Regions from separate parts of the Homo sapiens genome. Here region 1 is linked to region 2. The links are contacts of gene promoters, found by promoter capture Hi-C in blood cells and fetal thymus (Javierre and others, 2016). All regions are on one chromosome and are shown on one strand. Each heading gives the region's core, a stretch centred on a gene start or on the middle of the fragment in contact. The rest is flanking DNA. Distances are from core to core; before and after follow the strand shown.

Region 1 (4,733 bases), core at 2,075-4,574, 390 kb after region 2:
AATCATGATAGAACTGATTTGTTTACAAAATAAACCGCAGTCTTATTGTACTTGGCCTGATGATTTGCATAAAGTGAAGCAAGAATAATTATTTTTCACATAGGCTTTGTTTTTTTTTTTGAGATGAAGTCTTGCTTCGTGGCCCAGGCTAGAGTGCGGTGGTGCGATCGTGGCTTACTGCAACCTCCGCCTCCCAGGCTCAGGCGATTCTCCTGCCTCAGTCTTCCAAGTATCTGGGATTACAGGTATCTGCCACCACGCCCAGCTAACTTTTTGTATTTTCAGTAGAGACAGGGTTTCACCATGTTGGCCAGGCTAGTCTCAAACTCCTAACATTGTGATCTGCCTGCCTTGGCCTCCCAAAGTGCTGGGATAACAGGTGTGAGCCACTGCGCCTGGCCTTCACATAGGCTTTTAAAATTGGCTTTGATGGAACTCTGTTCCATAAGAAATCTTAGATAAGACCTTTTTAAAGCCAAGCCCAGCCATGGGTTTGTACCCTCGAATACCTATGAGTTGGGTAAATTCCTCTCCTCTTGAGGTGTCAAGATAACTTAGGTCTCCTGAGCCTGTTAGAAAGTGACATTCTTTACTTACCACAGGTCAGGAACCTCGTACAGGGACTGTGTTGACATAGTATGAGGCCAGATTTCCCAAGGGGCTCTATAAGTCAATTTTTTGGCTTATTGGCTCTATAAGTCAACTTTGTTTTTTTTTTTTTTGAGACGGAGTCTCGCTCTGTCGCCCAGGGTGGAGTGTAGTGGCGCGATCTCGGCTCACTGCTGCAAGCTCCACCTCCCGGGTTCACGCCATTCTCCTGCCTCAGCCTCCCGAGTAGCTAGGATTACAGGTGCCCACTACCACGCCCGGCTAATTTTTTGTATTTTTAGTAGAGACGAGGTTTCACCGTGTTAGCCAGGATGGTCTGGATCTTCTGACCTCGTGATCCGCCCGCCTTGGCCTCCCAAAGTGCTGGGATTAAAAGTGTGAGCCACCATGCCCGGCCTAGAGCTCTTTTTTCTAAGAAAAAATCCTTTTAAGGCCAGGCACGGTGGGTCATTGAATCGTGAATTCAATGGGTGGTCTCTGAGCAGTCACCCTGAATCAGGCCTGTTAAACTTCTTTCAGGGCTCACTGAATGTGACTAGATAAATAAGGAGTGTTCTCCAAGTTAGGCCTGCTGGATTTTCATCAGCAATTCCTTCAGAGATCCCCTCCATATATACAAACACACACACGAAGACAAGACAGACAGAAGGCCTTCCAAATTAAGGTCCCTAACCAAGAACTCCAAGAGTACCCCTTCCAAACTATCCTCCTATTCTCCATCTGACAAATCTCCCTGAAATATTCCTGATTGAGAAGTCTCCCGAACCAAGACTCTTCCTAGTTAGGGACAGCCAACTGGGATGCCCCAGGAGCCAAACTGAGACAGACACCCCATGGTGGAGCTACAGACACCCACCATGTGGCTACAGAATCAGTCCGGAGAAGGAAGGAGGCACTGGCAGCACCTAGGATACTCAGCAACCTGCCACCCCATGATGGGGCTATAGCTACAGACACTCCATGACCTGGCTACAGCGCCCCGCTATGGAGCTACAGATACCCTGTGACAGGGCTACAGTTATGGGATGTCTCCCCAGGACTATTTCTCCATTGCGATTAAGTCCATGCATATTGGGCTAGCAGTGCCCCACTGGCAGAGACGGTGCCAGAGTTAGCCCCTAGTCCAAGAGAACTATGTGGCCGCTTAGGCTGGCCTCTGGATCTGTCACCAGAGGTGGGGCTACCGAACCATGGACAGGTAGCCACAAGGGGTATCCCAGACGAACCCCCAAATTTGTAACCGTACAATGGGTTCACCTTGCCCACTGCCTAGACAGAGCCGATTTATCAAGACAGGGGAACTGCAATAAAGAGTAATTCACGCAGAGCCCACTATGAGACTGGAGTTTGTTTCAACATTACTCAATCAGTCTCCCTTAGCATTCCGGGATCAGAGTGTTTAAGGATAATTTGGTGGGTGGGGGAAGGCCAGTGAGTCCAGAGTGTTGACTGGTTGGGTCGAGATGAAATAATAGGGAATTGAAGCTGTCCTCTTGCACTGAGTTGGTTCCTGGGTGGGGGCCACAAGGTCAGATGAGCCAGTTTATCCATCTGGGTGGTGCCAGGATCCAACCAGTGCGGGGTCAGCAAAATATCTCAAGCACTGATCTTAAGAGCAGTTTAGGGGGATCACAATATCGTAGCCTCCAGCTGCATGACTCCTAAACCATAATTTCCAATCTTATGGCTAACTTATTAGTCCTACAAAGGCAGTCTAGTTCCCAGATAAGAAGATTTGTTTTGGGAAAGGGCTGTTATCCTCTTTATTTTAAACTATAAACTAAGTTCCTCCCAAAATTAGTTCACCTAAGCTCAGGAATGAACAAGGACAGAAGCAAGATGGAATTGGTTAGGTCAGATCTCTTTCACTGTCTCAGTTTTAATTCTGCAATGGCGGTTATCACTGGGAGCCCCCAGCCCCCGCAGAGACATGCGGAGCCCCGCCCCCACCCTGCACTCTAATAAAGAAGGGGGCCAGCGTGCCGGCCTCTTAAAACAAGTTAACACCTGGCAGGATTCTAACAGGAACCTGGCCAGGTTTCTCCGCGGGGCGGGGCTGGGACGGCCGGAAGATGGCGGCGACGGCGGCAGCCGGGTCCGAGGGTCACTCTCCAATGCGCCCTTGACGGCTCTCGCCGCCGAGCCACCTACCTTGCTAGCAGGCGGCCTCCGCGCATGCATGAAGGGGCAGGAGGGGGCGGTGACGAGCACTTCACGGCGCCAATGAGCACCCAGGAGCCCAGGTCGCGCCCAATCACGGCCCAGGTGGCGGAGAAAAAGTAGGGTGCGCGCGCGCCGCGCGTGTGGCAGTCGCGGAAGGCGCGGGAGCTTGCGTGCTGCTGGGCCTGAGCTGTCTGTCTCGTTTCTGTCCGCGCGCCCTGCATCCCGGCCCCGGGCGCCCGCTGGAGGTCGCCGAGGAGCCACAGGGCTGACTGGTCTGCTGCCCGGGCCCAGGAGTGCCTGGTGTAGCAGTCGCGGAGCCATCCCGGCGTCTGCTGCCATGACCGACTCTCCCCTCAGAGGAGACTCTTCCTCAGCGGTGGCTGCAGAGACAGATGAGCGGCGGCTCCTGGCCGCGGGACCGTGAGACGGGTTCGTGGCCGGCCATTTAGGGGGACGCTGCGACCACCGCCTGCGCCCCTCCGGACTGGTTCCTTGGGCCCCGGAAGCTCGCGGCGGGCCCTGCGGGAGGCGGCATGCTCCCGCGGAGGCTGCTGGCCGCCTGGCTGGCGGGGACGCGGGGCGGGGGCCTGCTGGCGCTTCTGGCCAATCAGTGCCGCTTCGTCACGGGCCTGCGCGTGCGGCGCGCGCAGCAGATCGCGCAGCTCTACGGCCGCCTCTACTCCGAGAGCTCACGCCGCGTTCTCCTCGGCCGCCTCTGGCGCCGGCTGCACGGCCGTCCTGGCCATGCCTCTGCCTTGATGGCGGCGTTAGCCGGCGTCTTCGTTTGGGACGAGGAGAGGATCCAGGAGGAGGAGTTGCAGAGGTGGGCGCTGCGGCGAGCTCTTTCTGGGCCGTGGGGTGGGGGGGCTTGTGAACCCTGGGGCCTGCCCTGTGGTCGTTGGCCCTTGTTTACCCGGTGGTCTTTTAATTGGCAATACAGTCGATTGAACCTGCTTCAGCAAACCGCGTTGTTATTTGTCTCTGTGTGTCAATTTGCATTTGTCGGGTTATAAAATAGAACTGAAAGTGTGTAGGCTGGTGTGTAGGAGGGAGACTTTGAGTGGGGCGAGCAAGACAGTAAAGAAACAACACTGTAGAAATCAATTAGATAGCGAAGGCATGGAGGCCCTTGTTCATGTAATCTGTAATCTTTAACACAACCAGAAAGGTGCAAATTCAAAACAAATTTTAAATTTGGCCTAAGGGTGGTGGGCTGCTATTTGCAAAATGACTTCAATCCAGATGGGACTCAGGCCTGTGAGAAAAGCCAGGAGAGCCCTCTGTCATCGTGACTCGTGGCAAAATTGAGAGCCTGGAAGCGATTTTGTCCAGGTTACACAAACCAGCAGCCCAGACATTTGAACCTGTAAGAATTAGGTCAGATTTTTGCGACGTTAACTAGAACTTTGGGAATAGTGTCCCATTAGACTCTGAAGTCATGCTGTCGTCATCAAAACTGTGAAAAGCCCAGTACCATTGATTACGTTTGTTAATCTGTAGTTCTGAGACTGTAGTTTCCAGGTAATGTCATGGGGAAACTTTGCTTTGGTTTTTGGTTTACCTTGTGTCTGTATTTTCTTTGCAACAGATATTCTTAAACTGTGCCCTCCCTGCACAGAAAGTACTTTGCCGTGATTTCGGGAACCAGAGACAATCCCCTCCCTCCGCAGATTCCACACTCGCCTGTTTATTCTTGATATTTCCTCCACAGGGAAACAACCTGTTATTCCACATTTTTTGTTAGGTTAAAAATGGAAATACCCCAATAAAGTTTATACCATGGCCTGTGTGGGAGGTGTAACACCCAGATGCCAGGCAGCTATTTGTGCCACACTATGAATTGTGGGTAAATGCAAGTCTATCTTAAGAACTGGGAATACTTTTCCTAGCAGGAAAGATAACTTTTATAAATGCAACTTAAAATAATAACCACAAACAACCTTATTCACAAAAAAGTTAAG
Region 2 (4,443 bases), core at 171-2,670:
GGCATCCCCCCACACCTACATGTCTAAGGCCTCAAAATCAGAAGTCACGGAAATCTTCCCTTCTGTTCTGTTGCCCTTAAAAACTCACCTATTTCCTTTTTTCTGCATTCCTTTTCTGTCTTCATGTGTAATAATATGAGGTGACCTTTGTTGTTGAGCACAGATTAAACTCAGGAGCTTTATGTGGATTATTTCATTTAATCCTTACGGTGACCCTGGAAAGTAGATGCTGTCATCTACCTCTTACAGGCGAGGAAAAGGAGGCTCAGAGAACATAGGCACTTGCCTTAAAAAGTGGAAAGTTGAGTCTCTCACTCTAGAGTCCATGTTCTGTTAACCACTTGGCAGCTAGAACATGTGTCCTTGTGTATCCAACTTCTTTCCTATTGAGAATTAATTCTTTAAAATAAATTCTCAGGAGTTGGGATAATTGGGATAGAGGGTCTGAATATGATGATAACCTGTCAAAGCTTTGACCCTTCTTCACTACCTCTCCTGCCACAGCGCCTGCCTCCAGCACCCTGAAGATGCTGTGTGATATGTCCTCCTTACCAAGTTGGTGATGGCTGCCTCATGGTGGGCCCTGGACAGGTGTGTGGTCCTGCTGAGCTGTCCACGTGTCGGAAGACCTGTTTAAGACAGTCATTTTTGCCTCTCCGCCAACTGTCTTCAGAGAAACCATTAGGTTAGGTGATACGGTGCCAGCAAGGGAAGCACCATCGTCCAGGATCTGCAAATCTGGTTCCTGGGAACCCCAGACTCCTCAGCAGATCTGGCTGTACATGGATCAGAACCACTTCTTCCCCCGCTTAAGCTGTGGTTTGACCCAAGGGTCAGCATATAGGACTGCCTGCTGCATTTAATGAAGGTGTTTCCTTTTGGAAGTCTGTGCTACCCTCTGCGCCTAGTTGGGAGGAGACATCCATCTGGTCTGGGATTTCGGGAGTTAGAATGGAAAGCTCTTTGCTAAAGACTGGAGTCATCCTGGCCTGCCAACTGGTGGTTCAGAGCCGGACGGGCTTGTTTTGGACATCACTGTTGCCTTCACTCAGCAGCCACGGGAGAGTGCTCCCCATGCAACTCCACCTTAGAAACCACGTCAGATACTGAGTAGCTTGCTGACTCCTGGAAACTTCTGGTTTTTGTTAGTATCATAATGAAGGCAAAGAGAACTAGGCTGTCATCTTTCAGCCTCTTTGACTTACTCTAGATGTTGGGAGCAGTGGTTGCCAGGTGAAACCTGGGCCCTTTGTCTTTTTCACCATGCTTTGGGCAGTTTCTGTATCCAGAGAGTCCGCAGGTTCAGATAAGCTGAAGAAGAGTAATAGAACAGCAAAGGAAGTGGCTTGAAGGATGTGCTAGTAAGCCCTGTGGTTTGTGCTTAGGTCTCTGCTCTGCTACCCAAGGAACTGGTGGTTCAGCTGGAGATAAAAAGAAGAATTTGCCAAGTCAGAGAAGAAACCCCAACCCCGGAAAATCCTCTGTCTCCAGTCTCTGGAGGTGAAGCAGGGACAATAAGCTAAGGTAGTATCTTGGCCATCCCAGGAAACTTGTGGCATTAGGACGATGAAGGCCATGCTTCAGTGTTTTCGTTTCTATTTCATGAGACTTTTTGTCTTCCTGCTTACAAGTGGGAAGATGATTGACAGTGACTCTACTATGCAGGGCTGTTGGTACCAACCTGAGCCCTATAGGTGGCAGTCCCTGGAGAAGTGGTCACAGAAGATGGAGCTCTGATCCCCTGCTTACCTCTTCACAACACTTGTGTGCAAAGATAGTTTTAGATTTGGTTTAGAAGCTATCCTCCAGAACAGGCTCCCATACTTAGAATGTTTCTAGTTAAGGTAATAAATTAGGCAACCCAAGTGTGACTCCACTCAAGTGTCCTTTTCTGTAGGCAGGAAGGGCCCACAACATGGCTTAAAATGTAGTCCATGGTTCTGGCCCACAGTACAGTGTGTATCTATACCAGGTCACCTGTGTTCAATCTGGGAGCCTTCCTGGCCAGTCTGAGTGGCAGCCAGAAGGGAGCTCATAGTGTCTAGGAGTCTCAGGCAAGGTAGGTCAGGGTACTGTGGGCAGGGGGGATGTGTGTGATAGGAGAGGGTACCCTAAACCCCATACCTTCCCTCCCTGACCTGAAAAGCTGATCTCAACAGGGATTCACACAGAATTAGGCTGTGTTTTTGCATTAGCTGGTAGGTGACTTTCTCAAAATTCTTAAATTCAGAAAGTATTTAGTAAACTTGAGGAAGGTATGAAATCTGGAGGAGGCATCCAGGACCCAGGGGTTTGATAGCTTTACAGGTAGGATCATACCACACCAAAAGAGCAGTGGACAATAAGACTATATGAGCTATATGAAGCTTTTAGGAATCATTTAGGACAGACAGAGCCCTAAACAACCCATTCATGACTTAAGTTGTTGGCTCAGTGTATGCTGGGGACAAAGAAAAACTAACAAGCCGACCTGCCTTTATGATAAATTCTAGTGTGCTTACAAGGGATGACTTCCTGAGGTGTGATCTGTCCACCTTGAAGAACTCCACAACTGAAGAAGGGGAGCTGTGAGAACGTGGATTGTTCTACAACTTGCACAGGGTAACAGAGGAAGTGGCTGAGGCCTAGAGTCACGTTTTCCAGTTCCCTTCGCAAACTATATTTCTTGGAACGCGAAAGGAAGCTTTACCTATTTCATAGAAGACCTGGAATCCATAACCTCAGAAGGCAATATTATTGATAGAAAATGTGGAAGGATCAGGAAGTTCTTAGATTCTTGGATGACAGATGCATGTTGATGCCCTATGGAGATGTCCTTGTGTTTTGAGGTCACTGAGGTAGGAAGACCTGTCTACTCTTGGTTTCACCACTAGAACAGTCTTGGGCTGGATGGGTTATAGAGCTGAGCGGCTGTGATGGTTCTGTTTTTACATTAACAAAAACAATTAAAAACACCAAAAACAACATTTGGATTGCTTCAGCTTCTTTTCAGTTGACTTCTCATATGTATTCTGGAAACCACCCAATGAAGTGGGCACCAAAGGTAGAGCTAAGATATTGTAAGGCCAGTGATCATCACCTCACCAATGCCAGGTGGTATGAGGGGGTACTGTAATTTCCTTTTTTTTTTTTCGAGATGGAGTCTCGCATTGTTATTTGGGCTGGAGTGCAATGGCGCGATCTTGGCTAACTGCAACTTCCGCCTCCTGTGTTCAAGCAATTCTCCTGCCTCAGCCTCCCAAGTAGCTGAGATTACAGGCGCCCGACACCACGCCCAGCTAATTTTTTGTGTTTTTAGTAGAGACAGGGTTCCACTATGTTGGCCAAGCTGGTCTCAAACTCCTGACCTTGTGATCCGCCCGCCTCAGCCTCCCAAAGTGCTGGGATTACAGGCGTGAGCCACCACACCCAGCCTGTAATTTCCTTTCTATAAGTGAGGAAACAGGCACAGAGCAGTCAAAACAGCAGGAAATGGCAGAAGCAGTACTGGAACCCAGACAGTCTGATGTCAGTGTCTTTTCTACTCTGCATTGTGCTAGGGTTCTAAGATGGGAGACTGGAGGTAGAGATTAACCCAGGAGGTGAGGAGATGGTGGCTTGGCCTGCACGTGACCTTTTCAGTTTACTTCCCACCAGGCCAAGAGTAATTGATGTTGATATGGTGGGGCTCTTGGCTGAGCCTACGTCAGTAGGTGGGGTCCCTCAACCTTGATCCTGAAAGATCAGTATCCTTTCGCACTTCCTATACCTCCACCCACCGCCAATAAATACATAAAGATTTAGAGATGAATGAATGAATTCCAACCTCTAGATTATTTGTTAACTTGTATTCAGGAGGACCTTCCTTCTAACCCCTAAATTCCAGGTCACTACCCTTGGCATTGGAGCCCTCTGGGTGGAGGCCATAGTTCTGGTATGCTGCTTGGAGTGTCCAGTATACCTGGGCACATCGTGTTACCCTCCTTAGTAGACATCTGGTTTGCTGTCTTCTCCCTCAAACTCTAGTCTCACTGACTTGAGCAGTCAGGTCAAGCGAGATGAGGATTAGATTGTTAAAATGACAGCTCTCTGAAACTTCAGGGGTATGGGGACAGGGCCATAGCAAATAATGATGCAGACAAGTCTTTTTTACCTTTTTATGTCTTTTTCAAGCACACATTTTGGTCAGGGTTGATGGCTGCAAGAAGGAGAAACCTATTCACCACCAAAATAGCTCTGAAAGGGAATATTCTCTCATTAGGCATTTTTATAGACAAGGAGCCTCACGGTTTTGGTACTTGCCTCGTGACCTCAAGTGGCTTGGACTTGCCGGGATCCAGTTTTGATCCTATTGTCACAGGACTTTTTAGCTGCAGAACCCTTTATGGATGGCTGGTCTCTTTCATTCAGTTCAAATTCTGAAGACAGCCTGATTGGCTCACTCTCACTTGTGGGTTGGTTCTC

The links. The method cuts DNA at HindIII sites, captures the fragments that hold promoters and counts their contacts. A CHiCAGO score of 5 or more calls a contact.
Region 1: a contact is called between the fragment with the promoter of STARD7-AS1 here and a fragment that was not itself captured in region 2, in 2 of 17 cell types (total CD4 T cells and non-activated CD4 T cells). The highest score is 5.6, in total CD4 T cells.

What each region holds. Positions count from the first base shown.
Region 1 is chr2:96,207,007-96,211,739 of GRCh38, reverse strand. It overlaps STARD7-AS1 (STARD7 antisense RNA 1), which reads right to left and starts at 3,324. Exons shown (of 4, transcript NR_046322.1): 1 at 2,761-3,324. STARD7 (StAR related lipid transfer domain containing 7) reads left to right here and starts at 2,913. Exons shown (of 8, transcript NM_020151.4): 1 at 2,913-3,595. The coding sequence starts at 3,306. RefSeq lists silencers at 2,667-2,886, 3,237-3,496 and an enhancer at 2,629-3,219. The HindIII fragment of the contact is 17,331 bases long and covers 1-4,733 here.
Region 2 is chr2:96,591,693-96,596,135 of GRCh38, reverse strand. It overlaps KANSL3 (KAT8 regulatory NSL complex subunit 3), which reads left to right. Exons shown (of 21, transcript NM_001115016.3): 21 at 505-2,964. The coding sequence ends at 525. Among named protein-coding and RNA genes, the nearest start is that of KANSL3, 44 kb to the left of the region's middle. The HindIII fragment of the contact is 1,896 bases long and covers 473-2,368 here.